Regions from separate parts of the Homo sapiens genome. Here region 1 is linked to region 2. Evidence: promoter capture Hi-C in human tissues and cell types (Jung and others, 2019). All regions are on one chromosome and are shown on one strand. Each heading gives the region's core, a stretch centred on a gene start or on the middle of the fragment in contact. The rest is flanking DNA. Distances are from core to core; before and after follow the strand shown. Region 1 overlaps VAT1L (vesicle amine transport 1 like). Region 2 holds the start of CLEC3A (C-type lectin domain family 3 member A).

Evidence for each region. The method cuts DNA at HindIII sites, captures the fragments that hold promoters and counts their contacts. A contact is called where the count stands out against the background at its distance.
Region 1: a contact is called between a fragment that was not itself captured here and the fragment with the promoter of CLEC3A in region 2, in 3 of the 25 tissues and cell types used here (aorta, liver and pancreas).

Annotation. Positions count from the first base shown.
Region 1 is chr16:77,856,258-77,863,485 of GRCh38, reverse strand. VAT1L (vesicle amine transport 1 like) reads right to left here. Exons shown (of 9, transcript NM_020927.3): 4 at 596-738. Among named protein-coding and RNA genes, the nearest start is that of VAT1L, 71 kb to the right of the region's middle. The HindIII fragment of the contact is 6,734 bases long and covers 1-4,916 here.
Region 2 is chr16:78,017,639-78,024,684 of GRCh38, reverse strand. It overlaps CLEC3A (C-type lectin domain family 3 member A), which reads right to left and starts at 2,137. Exons shown (of 3, transcript NM_005752.6): 1 at 1,944-2,137. The coding sequence starts at 2,058. RefSeq lists an enhancer at 4,333-4,502. The HindIII fragment of the contact is 19,144 bases long and covers 1-7,046 here.

The DNA of each region.
Region 1 (7,228 bases), core at 300-2,799, 160 kb after region 2:
TTACTGCCAGTGCCAGGCCTTTCTGGGTGCACCCAATGACAAGGTTTCTCAGTTTGCTTTCAGTAAGGCGTAGCCAACGACCTGAGCAGTAGTGCTAGACTATGAGAAGGGTGTGTGTTCTTTCTGGGACTGGCCCATAAAACCTCCTATTCATGACCCTTTGGTGCTGTCTGCCCATCTGTTGGCTAGAAGCAAAGGACCTTTAGACCCAAGACAATAGTGGAACCATAAGATGAAAAGAGCCTGGGTCTCTGAATGCTCTTACAGAAGATCATCCACCAAATATCCACCTTAAGCTATCATGTGAATGAATGAGAAATAAACTTCCATGTGTTAAGATGGTCAAATAGGAGCTAGCGTAACTTTAATACATTAACTTTCCAAGTTAGCCGATTCGTTCCTTGGTGATAATAGTGAGGTTAAGAGGATTAAATGAACTAATGCGTGTGAAATATTTGGCACAGAGCTAATAATACTAAGCCCCCAATATATGTTTGCTACATATTATTATTATCCCTCTTTTAAATAAGTGCTACTGCTCTTTGAGAGCAGAGCAAGGGCCAGCCTGGTGCTTTTTCAAAAGCAAACATCTTACCTTTTAACTTCTTGCACGTAGTCTGCATTTCTGTCAAAGAGGTGGGTCACAGAGTCTTTGATTGCTTCATGCTTGAAAGTAGAGGCTGTTCCAAAGACAGTCACGTTGGGGACAGTGGAACACAGCTGAGCCACAGCTTGACCCTGGAAGGAAAAGACAATAGCTATGTCACACATAGGAGCCACCAGATCATAGCCAGTCTTGCTGGGTGTAGAGCAGGATTTCTCCATCGGCACTATTGACTTTTTTTTTTTTTTTTTTTTTTTTAGAGATGGAGTCTCACTCTGTCACTCAGGCTGGAGTGCAATGTGCAGTGGTGCGATCTCGGCTCACTGCAACCTCTACCTCCTGTGTTCTAGCGATTCTCCTGCCTCAGCCTCCCAAGTAGCTGGGACTACAGGCACATGCTGCCATGCCCGGTTAATTTTTTGTATTTTTCGTAGAGATGGGGTTTCACCGTGTTGCCCAGGCTGGTCTCGAACTCCTGAGCTCAGGTAATCCACCCGCCTCAGCCTCCTAAAGTGCTAGGATTACAGGCGCAAGCCACTGTGCCCGGGGGGCCTTTTTAAGGTTGGATTAGTCTTTGTGGTAGGAGACTGTACTATGCATTGTCAGATGTTTAGCCCTCCAGGCCTCTACCTACTACATGCCAGTAGCATCCTCCCAGTTGTGACAACCACAAATGTATCCAGACATTGCAAAGTGTCGCCTTGGTGGAAGGACAAAATGTCCTGTGGTTAAGAATCACTGGCATAGAGGAAAGTCAATGGGAATCAGGCGAATCCAAGCACCAAGACTTAAAAACTGATATCTTACAATGCCACCTACTTCACAGCGCTCTTGCAGATGTCTTAGTTTGGGTACCCCAGAAGCCGAACCTAAGATAACGATTTGGATGTAGGTATTTTACCTGGACAATGATCTCCGGAAATAACAAGGTATTAAGACAGTAAAAGAAGGCAGCCAATAAAAGATGTGTTATCAAGGCCATATCTACCATGTGTAACTGGAGCTCAATCCCTCTGGGGAACCCTGTGAGCAAGTGTAGAATACGCCTCTGAGTTATCCCAACCATGAGCAAGGAAGCCGGAGTATTTATCCAGCACATTTGCATCTGATACTTGTTGAGGGCTGCTTCTGCAATAGTAATTCTTGTGCCTATCTGGCTTCTTCCAGTCAAGTGGGCTCCCACAGCAGACAGAAGTCCTAAGCAACCTTCGGCATGTTAAGTGCAGAAAAGATAGGATGTGGCTGACAGCATCTTCTACAGGGAAGTGTAAATAAGGTATTTTGCAACACAGGTCAAAGACCTGGCACAAAATGTGACACTTAGATAATAAATCCTAATTACCTTTCCCCCTTAGGGGCTTATTATATCCATTGCCGAGATGTCCAGGCATATAGAGAAGAGGTCAACACAAGTTTTAAATATTAAGTGGTCCAGGGGAAATCACAAATGCAGTTAGGAGCAGGTTTATTTTTCCATATCGTTTTTCAGTATGGTCAAACTTGAAGTCATTGGACAAAATGTTGTGGTCATGTATATTCAGGCATTTTCCAGTAAAACCCAGTTTTCTGGTAACTAAGGTGCATTCTAAAGCCAAGTGTTGTCTCTTTCTGGTGTTCCATCTGCCATTTTAAGGAGGGAAAATATTCTACCAGCGTCATCTGTGATGTTAATTTCTGCCTATCATCTTATTTTCATGTCTTCATGCTGGCGGACTAAATCAGGTTGGCAGGTCAATTTATGGAAATGTCATCTTATCACCCGTTGCAATTAAAGGCAACACTGAGAGAATCACAGAATGTCAGAGTTGGAAGATCATCCAATTACCCCCTCCCCTGACTGCTCTATAGATAAAGGAAAAGACATTCAGAAAGGTTAAGGTTACCCACTTTTTCAGAGGCAAATCTGGGATTCAAAGTAAGGTCTCCTGGTTTCCACTTATTACCACTTTCCATTGTTATGCTGTCTACTTATTTTGACATTTTAAGCAAAGCAGGCTTTAAACTTCCTACCTAAAATAGACATGTTGCTGGCACACTCCCTTGGAGGTCAACATTTCAGAATATGGGCATGAACCTGAGACTCTGGACAGGCTATAGTTTTCTGTCCTAAGAATAGCATTGATACTTGTTTAATTCTCCTGCCTTCTAGATTTTATAAAGCAAAGAGAGGACTATCTTTTCTAGGGAGGGTAAATATCAGCAACCAATGCAGCAATTCTCTAAAATTTGCTGGCCTCAGATATGTCATAGTTATAGCTCCTTATGGACAGCGCTTGAGATAACCTTCTTACTACTGGGATGGGAAATTACAATTAGTTCCAGTCTCCCTGTATTCCCTTCGCCCTCTGTCCTTAGGCAAATAGGATATTCATTTATTCATTCAACTATTTTTCAAATTTCTATTCTGTACTGGTTGCACTGTGCTATGAATGCCAGAGTGTCCAAAATGATTGGCATGTGTTAATCTCCGGTCCCAAGCTGCCCACTGAGTCCTGGACTTGGGTCTCTATCGTTTTGGCATTTGTCTCCACCTGGCTGTCCCAAAAGCGACACATCACACTCAACTGATCCAAAACCTAACTCGTGGCCATCTCTGAATGAGTTACTCCCTAAGTCAGTTTCCTAGTGCTGCTGTAACAAAGTTCTACTGACCCAGTGGCTTAAACATCAGAAATTCCTTTTCTCACAGTTCTGGAGGCTCAAAGTCTAAAATCAAGGTGTTGGCAGGGTTGGTTCCTTCTGAGGGATGTGAGCGAAAGATCTATTCCAGGCCTTTCTCCTCGGCTTGTAGATGTGCCTATTCTCCCTGCGTCTCTCCACGCCGTCTTCTCTCTATGACACTCTGTGTCCGAATTTCCCCTTCTCATAAGGACACCAGCCATATTGGATGAGGGCCCACTCCAGTGACCTCAATTTAACTCGATTGCCTTTGTAAAGACCCTATCTCCAAATAAAGTGACGTTGTGAGGTACTGGGGGTTAGGGCTTCAACATATGAATTTGGAGTGGTGGGGGTGGGATGCAATTTAACACTCCTCTTACTGTGTTTCCTGCTTCAGTGGATGGACTGCACCATTCCCCAGCGTTAAAGCCAGGAATCTGGGCAGCATCCTGGCCTCCTCTTCCTCCCTCAACCCCACGTCCCTATATTCAGAAACTGTGTTATCTCTTTGTCCTCGACAGCTCTTATAACTGTCTCTTCTTAGTCTGGATCATCACATTTCTCACCCTGGACTATGACAACACTCCTCCACCTGACCTGGCTGTTTCCAAAAGTCCTTCTGTGGTCAGAGTGACATTTCTCAAACACAACACTGAACATGTCACTATTTATTTTGGACTTCCCAATGTCCATCACAGCTTTCAGAATAAAATGCACACATCTAGTTTATCACACTAGACTGGCCCCTATTATCTGACCCAGTCTCCCCTCATTCACTTATTTCCTCCGCTTTTCCAATTTCTACTCCCTAACACACACCGAACTTCAGCCACCACAGTTAGCATTTGCCATGAGCATGGCATTGTGCAGCCCTCAACCCTGGCATTCTCAGAATGACCTTTCATCTTACTTTTGTTTGTTATTAGAGACAGGGTCTCACTCTGTCAGGTTGGAGTGTAGTGGTTCAATCATGGCTCACTGCAACCTTGAACTCCTGGGCTCAAGTGATCCTCCTGCGTCAGCCTCCCCAGTAGCTGGGACTACAGGTACATGCCACCACACCCAAATAGTTTTTTTTTTTTTTTGAGATGGAGTTTCGCTCTTGTTGCCCAGGCTGAAATGCAGCAGCACGATCTTAGCTCACCACAACCTCTGCCTCCTGTGTTCAAGCGATTCTCCTGCCTCAGCCTCCAGGGTAGCTGGGATTACAGGCATGTGCCACCATGCCTGGCTAATTTTGTATTTTTAGTAGAGACGGGGTTTCTCCATGTTGGTCAGGCTGGTCTCGAACTCCTGACCTCAGGTGACCCGCCCGCCTCGGCCTCCCAAAGTGCTGGGATTACAGGTGTGAGCCACCAAGCCCAGCCTTTTTAAAATTTTTTTTTGTAAAGATGGGGTCTCACTATGTTACCCAGGCTGGTCTAGAATTCCTGGCCTCAAGTAATCAATCTTGGCTTCCCAAACCACTAGGATTACAGGCATGAGCCACTGTGCCCAGCGTCACCTTATTTTACTGAGGAAGAAGCTGAGGTTTACAGAGGTTAGATGTCTGCTCCAACACCACTAGAGTAACAGCTTGATCTGCTTCACTCCTGGCTGCCACACATACCAGCTGAGCAACGTATTGGCACCTCTGTTCACTCGTCTAAAATATTTGGTTAGCAATACTCTACACAGTCTAGGTTTACTGTGAGATTACGTGATATAATGCATCAAAGTGCCTAGAACAATCAATGCTCAATACATACTTGCTATCACTACTCCTAAGTCCTCTCTTACTATTTTTCTTGGTCTTATTACATTTGCAGTAGCAGCATATCTGCTATCCTGCTATCAGATCCTGCGTGACTATGCTATTTTAGCATCAACGCCAGTTTCCCCACATGCTTTCCCCCTTCTCATTATGCCCTCCCTTCCTCTTTCTTCTTCCAATCAGGGCTATTCCCACTCAGTCATCTCCATCCCCAGGAATCCTTTCCAGCATCCCAGATAGAGTTGGTTGCCCCCTTTTGTGCCCCTTTGACTTGTGGTTCTTTTCTCCCGAAGCGTGACCACCACGGCCTCTGTGGCTTCTGCCTGCCCCATCTGTGAGCTCTGTGGGGGCAGGGACTGTGTCTCCACCGGCCCTCTGCTCCTGTGCCCAGTGCAGAACCTGGCACATAGTAAATGTCTGGTAAAACTTGGTGGACGGATGCATGAGAAACTGGAGGAGTTGAGTGTATGGGGGCAGCCCTTCCCAGTCGTTTTGCAGCCTTCATGTCCTTTAGTGTTGTAGAGTTGGAGTAAAGCGTGCATTTAATTAACCTATGCAGGTTCTGACTGAAGCAGAACTTCACTATTTCTATTTTAAAGAAAAACATGCACATGGTTAAAAAAAAAAAAAAGAGAGAGATAATATAGGTAATCCAAATCACTTATGTACTTATATTATTATATAACATATAATATGTGAGTATTAGATAATGGATAAATATATGACTTATAACTAGAATAATGTACAATTAATATATATAGCCATGATGTGTATATGTATAATTATATATACATAATATATACTATCTATTTAATAAGTAATAGAGAAATAGAATTACTAATAACACAATTAAGATTAGTATGCTATGTGAGTATTATGTATAATATATAATAATCTATACTTTTATATAAAGATTAATGGATGGAAAACACAAATTCATCACATATCTACTTGCGGCCTTTCTGTTCTCCATCACCTGTCTTAGGCAATGAGAGGCCCTGGTAACATTTTCAATAAATTTTAAATAATGCTTAGCATTCTGTATTTAAGCAGAAAAGTGCCTTCCCACACATTTATAGAAAATCTGTATTCTCCCTTCTCCAACTCCCGAGGTGAATGCAGGATCAGCAGCTCATTTATCCTCATTTCTCCTACGTGCCTAGCAAATAGCATGGACTCAATAACATTTGTGGAAGACAGAATGAACTTTCAATAAAAAGGACCTTGCAGTTTACCTCCAGAACCAGAACATAAAATGAACAAGACAATCCATTCTCCCAGTCACTGCAGTAAATGACGATTTGCATGCGCTTGTTTTTAATGGATTTTCCTTCCTTCTTTTGAACGTAAGAATTCTGCACCACATCTGCCCTTCTCTTCCCTTTGGCTAACAATACAGCATTAATAGCAGCTGCGGCTTCTTTTGTCCCACCATGGGGCAGATACTGTACTAAGGTGCTTCGTTAAATCCTTAAACCACCTTTAGTGTAAGTATTTGTGTCTTCTTTTCATACGTAAACATGGGGATTCAGAGAGAAAAGGAAAGTTCCCAAGGTTACCTGGCATGTGAATGAGAAAGCTGGAAGTCAAATGCAGGTATCCGTGACTCCAAGGCCACTCTGCTATTAATCTTCTCATCTGTGCAGCTAAGCCCTCGAGTTGCCATCTTAGAGACAACTTCGGGTCTTTGCCATCAATTACTCTTTGGATGGCTTTGTCTCAGGTTCATATGGGCGAAGAGATTTTCAACCAGATGTTAATCAACTCAATCCTTATTGCAGAGCTGCTGGAGTCTCCTTAATCAGAGCACAGGCAGCAGGGAATCCAGGGACTGTGGTAACAAGGGAGCTGATTTAGGTCCCTGAAATATATGACCCTGATCGACAGACTGGCAGTTTAAAGCAAGATCATATTCCAGCATGTAAACGAATGATTAGAGGAGTGAATTCATCTCTTTAAAGGCTTACTACACTGCCTGGTACATATTAAGTACTGAGTAAGGAGCAGTTTTTAGCTATAACAGTTTTGAGATTGGGATGGGGCCCAGTTGAAATTCTTTTTACCCATTAAGTGGGAATTTAGGCTAGATGAGCCTACCAGTGCACTGAGATTCAGGATTTAGCATCAGAAACTCAACTAAGTAAGGACAGAGAATGGATGGCTTAGGAAAATGTCTATAATGTAAATACTGTCTACTCCTCCAGCCTTGT
Region 2 (7,046 bases), core at 888-3,387:
ACTATTTTAAAAGTATATGGATGGGTGGGGATATAATTGCTTGATCGGTTTAGGTTTATTGCTTCACCTACTGTAGAATCTACTTTCTAGGACCTAATGGCAAAAAGTAGCAAAAACTATACTGGGGGAATGACATTTAAGAGGTGTGTACCTAGTCAGTTTTGTTTTGTTTTGTTTTTAAATAAAAGCATGTGCATGCACATGTGGTTATGACAGAGGCAGTGGGGAAGAAGGGGGTAAAGAAGTGGGAAAGAAGGTAGGGAGAGAGAAGAGAGTGGGAGGAGGAAGGGGAGGGAGGCCCCTGGAAAACCTGGATGTGACCTAAGCTGCGATTACTTCAGAAACACCCACACAGCACCCACATGCACACTCAGTCATGTTCAGACCCTCTTCACACATTCCTACTGGGTGATCGCCACTCTCACGAGGAGTGCCACTCCATCCAGCAGTGAAGAAACGCTGGCTACAGAAATGTACCATGTCACCCAGTATCTTCTCTCTCCCCTCTCCTTTCGATACCATCTTCAGCAATATGTTTCATCTACTCATGAGAAATATTTTAATCTTTCACCGAAAGAAGTACAGTATTTCTTAAGGAAAAAAGATTCCACTTAAGAAACCTTGCACTAGCCGGGCGCGGTGGCTCACGCCTGTAATTCCAGCACTTTGGGAGGCCGAGGCTGACGAATCACGAGGTCAGGAGATCGAGACCATCCTGGCTAACACGGCGAAACCTCGTCTCTACTAAAAATACAAAAAATTAGTCGAGCGTGGTGGCAGGCGCCTGTAGTCCTAGCTACTTGGGAGGCTGAGGCAGGAGAATGGCGTGAACCCAGGAGGTGGAGCTTGTAGTGAGCCAAGATTGTGTCACTGCCCTCCAGCCTGGGCGACAGAGCGAGACTCTGTCTCAGAAAAAAAAAAAAAAAAGAAACCTTGCACCAGACCTAAATTTTGTAAATAAATGTCCCTGAAAAAATGGTACTTTATAATCCTTAAAGCACAAGACCCCTTTTTACCCACCAGCCATCTGTCATGTGAAATAGACTGTAACCTTGCTGAAATTTGTGTATGTGTGTGTTGTTACTAATGGAGTGAAAATAAGGAAATAGTCATAATCTGAAATATCCTGAAATGAAAATGATGCAGAGGATGTGATAAAACATGACCCTCTGTCTTGTTTTTTTCTTTTGCTTAGGTTTCAACGTATTGCAAACACCTCGCTATCATCATTGTTCTTTTCAATTTCTTTAACCTGTTAACCCAATTCAAGTCACTCAAAATTTGAGGTTCCTGGGAGATTCAGTTTTGCATCACAATGCCTTCAAATACTAGATGACTTTGCATATTGACTTTTTTAAGTTGGAGAGATTCAATGTCTCTGACATGAAAAAGTTTAAATATATGGTATAGGTTGTCCTTATGCTGCCAAGGATATGGAAATACAGCTAATGATAACTAATGACAAAACAGGAAGTCACCATTACCAAAATCTCTATCCTCTGCTACACATTGAATAAGATTATAGTTATCTTAAAATATAACTGAATTGAGTTACTCAATATCTACTAGTGAAACAGTGTGCTCAGTTAATACATTCTTCTTGCCCCATATTAATAACACCAGATTTTCAGAAATCCACTTGAGCTTCCTCTGAAGCACATTCTATTTAAGCCCACCTAACAAAAAATATACAACACAGAATTCTTTTACTATCAAATTTTTTCCCTGTTGTTTTTTTTTAAAACCCAGCAGCCTGGTTTCTTTAAAATAAACTATCCCAGAGCATTACAAGTTCACTTAATCCCCTGAAATGCCATATAGGGATGATGGCATGGTGCCATCACCGAAGATAGTCTCCTGGAGGAGTTTGAAAATTAACATTGTCCAGCACCTCCCCACACTGTCTAAGCCTAGAATTTTGCTTGATTGAGAAGCCCCATTACCTCTCACTCGACGTTTGCTGTGCTTCCTGGCTTTTAATCTGGATGTGTGGCTGGTGGTCTGGTCCAGGAGTAAGGTGATCACCAGGATGCAAATTACAAGTCCATTCTTTGCCATGGCTCTGGGGCAAGCCTGCTGAGCCATGTTGCCAGCCCCCTTAGAGCAGCTATGGAAGGAGACTACACAGCTACATCTTGCTCTGGGATGCCTGGGGCTGGCTTATAAAAGTGAGCTTCGGAGGTTGGCTGGAATCCTGCTGACGGAATGTTTGAATGCCTCTGCTGGCCACAGCATAAGGTGGCCTCTTGTTCTTGTGCCTCATGTTAGGCTTTCTATTTATTTAATTTCTGCTGCATTTCCTAGTGATTTGCCTTTTTGGAGTGTGTCAAACTTAACTACAGGTTTAGCCTGCTTTCTTTTTTTAAATTTAAACTCTGAGAAGATTGGGGTCTTTGTGAAAAATTCTTTGATTTGGAACTCTGAAATTCACTAAATGTTCTGGAAAATGGATTCAATTTAGTTTTCAGGGCAAAAAAAAAATTGGAGAAAAAGGAAAGTTACTGCGTGTGTGTGTGTGTGTGGTGCCACAGCACCATTCAAGCCAGTGTGTCTACTCATACTCATGTGTCTGCGCAGCTCAAGTGTAGCTTGGAAGTAGTTTTCTCAGTGGGATTTATGGAGATTGCGGAAATAGATACTCGATGATAAAATATAGGGCTTTCCTCCATTAGGATTTTGTAGACTCATCAAGAATTACTTCCTTGGGGCTGCATGTGGTGGCTCACACCTGTAGTCCCAGTGGGAGGCCGAAGTGGGTGGATCCCTTGAGGTCAGGAGTTCGAGAAGAGCACGGGCAACATGGCGAAACACCATCTCTACAAAAAAATAAAAAAATTCATCAGGCATGGTGGCACACATTTGTAATGCCAGCTACCTGGGAGGTTGAGGTGTGAGAATCACCTGAGCCCCAGGAGTTCGAGATCACTGCCCTCCAGCCCGGGCAAATTACTTTCTTGGGAAAATGTACCTTACAGTGAAAAGAAAATTTTAAAAAGTGAATTATTTCCATTAGAATAAGAATTAATGTAATAGATCAATAGCTATTTTTTCAGGTCCTCACCAATCATTTTTCCTTGAACACATTAAACAACACTTTCAAGTGCATGATGTAATAGCACAGAAACCTAGTGAGAGACTCGCCGGGCGTGGTGGCTCACGCCTGTAATCCCGGCACTTTGGGACGCTGAGGTGTGTGGATCACTTGAGGTCAGGAGTTCGAGACCAGCCTGGCCAACATGAGGAAACCCTGTCTCTACTAAAAAACGCAAAAAGATTAGTTGGGCGTGGTGGCAGGAGTCTGTAGTCCCAGCTACTCTGGAGGCTGAGGCAGGAGAATCGCTTGAACTCACAAGGCAGAAGTTGCAGTGAGCCGGGATTTTGTCACAGCACTCCAGCCTGGGCGACGGAGCCAGACTCCTTCTCAAATAAAAAATAAAAATAAAATTAATGTAATGAGAAACTCAATTATTCCTACCTTTAACCATAGGCTTTAAGGGCAAGTTTTCGGGACCTGATAGGCTTTTGCATCAAAAGCAATGGACTTGCATTACAGGAATAGCCGAGAGGGAGGAATTTAGACCCAGGGAAAGGCCTTCCTGCATTCCACATGCTTATTTGGCTGACCAGGTGCAAATGGAGGGCAGTGGTTGCAGATTTGGAAGGTCTGAAGGACCAAGTTCATTTTGCCTTTGTTTTTTCTTTGAGACAATACAGAAAGAATCAAGGAATGAGTGCTTCCTTCTGAATCTTAATGAGAAAAACCACAGTCTATTTCATCTTCATTTCCTCCAAGTTAAAGCCATTTTGTAACCTACCAATATAGTAAGACCATAGTAAGACCACTGATGTAGGAAAGTCTGACATGATTCAGCAAAGTAACTGTACAATTAAAGATCTGACCTCCGGTGTTGACTCTTTGTACCAACATGGGCAGTTAATGCATGGGCATTTGAGAACATTGTGAAGACAGGCTGAGCTCAGTTCACAACCTACCGCTTAGCTGTGTGATCTCAGGCAAGTCAATAAACCTCTATAAGGCTTCTCTCATCTTAACAGTGGGGGCTAGGAATGCTTATTTTACAGGGCTGTTGGAAAGATTAAATGAGATAATGGCTATGAAGCACTTAGCGCAATGTCCAGTATTTAATAATAAGATCCTTACCATTAATTACAATGGTACATACAATTTATGGAATGCCATCTTTTTAGTCTTCACAGCAAGCCTGTGGGATAAGTAATAATATTATCTCCATTTTAAAGGTGATTGAGCCTCAAAAGTTAAGTGGTTTTTGTCTAACATCACTAAGATCTCAAGGAACTGAGTAGAAATTACAATCCAGTTTTGATTAACTCCAGAAGACCTGGGCTGTGAAAATGTGCTTTGGTTTGAACAGGGGAAAAGATCAATGATTTACACCTGATCTTACAATTGATCAAAAATTTTCTTTGCCATCTTCCTAAATCCTTTTAAAAAAATTTCAAGTTATGGGCCAGGTGTGGTGGCTCGTGCCTATAATCTTAGCACTTTGGGAGGCCGAGGCAGGAGGACTGCTTGAGCCCAGGACTTTGAGACCACCCTGGGCAATATGATGAGATCCTATCTCTACAAAAAACAGAAAAAATTAGCCGGGTGCGGTGGCACGTGCTCGTGGTCCCAGCTTGCTTAGGAGGCTGAAGTAGGAGGATGACTTGAGCCCAGGAAGTTGAGGCTACCATAGCCTCAACCGTGGTGGCCCATGTTTGCACAACTACACTCCAGCATGGGCAACAAATCAAGACTTTGTCTCAAAACACAAAATATCTTGAATTAATGTTGTGTATTTGTCACAACTGCTGAATGAATACTGATGTTAGTATTAACTGAAGTCCACAGGTTACATTAGGGTTCATTTTGGTAGTATTCGTCCTGTGGGTTTGGACAAAGGTATAGTGTTGTACTGAATAGTTTCACTGAAACTATTAGCTATTAACTATTCACTGGGATATTTAACCCCTGCTTTTTGTTCTAATTAAATATTTGAGAATTCACCTCTTCCTCACTTCCGGTGCCTGGTGCTCCTCAGAGCTCTCCTTTGGCTGCTCTAATTCCCCTATACTCTCTCCCTAGAAGACCTTAATTCTTCTCATGGCTTCAGAGTGCTGTCTGTGGCTCCCGCATCAGCCTCCCCAACCTGGAGCTCCTCCCTTCAGTCTCATATTTCCAGTTGTCCATGTGACACTTAGAATTCAATGTCTCAGACATTTCTAACCCATGATAGTCAAATATTGAATTCTAGCTGCTTCTCTCACTAATGACCTATGAACTTAAGTCTCATTCCTCCAGAGTCTCCCTTGTCATAGTTAATGTCTCCACCCACTCAATGGGCCAATTCAGAAACATGGGAGGCATTTATGAGGCCCCTGTCCTTGCCCTCAACACCCTTCCCCACGACCTTGTCAGCAGCAAGTGCCCCCACATACGTGTTGATTCGTGACCTTTGTTCTTCACTCCTGCCATCATCATCCCATTCCAAGTCAAGAGCTCTTGTCCTAACCCATCCCAACTCAGCCCCTTTCCAATTCAAATGGATGCACCACGCATCACTAATGAAATTGTCACTCACCTACTTGAAACCCTCCAGAATTTTCCATTGCATTTAAAATGAAACCCACATTGCTTATCATGATTGCTGAGGCCCTTTTACCTGGTTCTTCCTGGTGACTTGTTCCAGTTGCAAAGACCGTTTGCCATTTCTAAATCCTATCTAAGTCTCTTCCCACACCCCCACTGTGCTTTCTCTCATGGGTTTTCTGTCAGTCCACTCCATGCCTTCCCAAACTTGATATCTCGGTGTGTGCTGTTTTGTATAAGGCCAACTCCACCTTGTCCTTCAGGTCTGAACTCACATGCTACCTCCACAGAGAAGCCTTCTCAATGTGCATAATCTAGAAAGGTCCTGCCCTGTGGTTCTCCATCAAAGTACCCTGCTTCCTTGATAGGCTTCATCACAATTTGCTTCTCATTTAAAGACTTACCTACTTAATTGATTTACTTGCTGGATGCTGGTCTGTAAACTCCTGCAGGGCAGGGGCTATGTCAGGTTAGTTCAACCATGCATGTGATATGACACATGGCACATAGTATTTGCTCAATAATTATTTTTGAATGTGTGGCTGAACAGCTTTGCTTTTGCTTCCTTCTCTTCCCACCGCCTCTCTAAGGCAACAAGGCATTTGGCCAACCAAGGAAAACAGCAACGCAACCCATGGAAGAGTAAAGAGACTGAGACTCATCTGTTGTACCAGCACTTGGAGTCACACTAAGAAATCATCACACTCGGCACTGGAGAAGCTCTGCTTGTCTTGTGGATTCTTGGCCCTGAGGCCAGACAGGGACAGAAGCTGTCCTTTAACTTGTCTTCCTCCTGTAGGAATTCCAACTCCAGCTTATCCCTCTTCAGGGAAAAAGCAGAGAAAATGAAATAAACTAAATGGCTGACAGGATTGGCTAGGAGAAGAGGAAGTGGGATGAGGGTCTGTGGATAGTGATGGACCTCAGAACATTCTCACGTGAAGGTTTTTCTCCCTGTCACAAATGCTGACGGACATCAGACATGGCCTTCCCATTTAGGTGAGGCTCTCCCCCTCATATCTTATCAGGAAATGCACGTGGGATGGCAGAGACCTGAAAAAAAAAATCACATCAAAAAAAAAAAAAAAAAGAAATCACACACATCAAAGATAACAGGGTGGGGTGACCCCTGCCCCACCTTGTCTTTGGGGAAGGCAGATCTCACTGTTTCATTGGAGGCTGAACAATTCCTTTTTTGTAGAGCAGGATGATGTCACCAGCTTGTCTCCTGGGCTGGACCTGGGGTTCTGAAAGGACTGTTTAAGAAGAAACACCACATTTATAGCCAGGGATAGACGCTATAAAAATATTGCTTTTAGACAAAAAGCGTTTTGATGATGATTTTAAAACTGTCACCAGGGTTTCATTTTCTTTAATAAATGGCTGTTTGCAACACATTCACTGACCACCCTGTGCCATTGGTGTGTTTATTCCA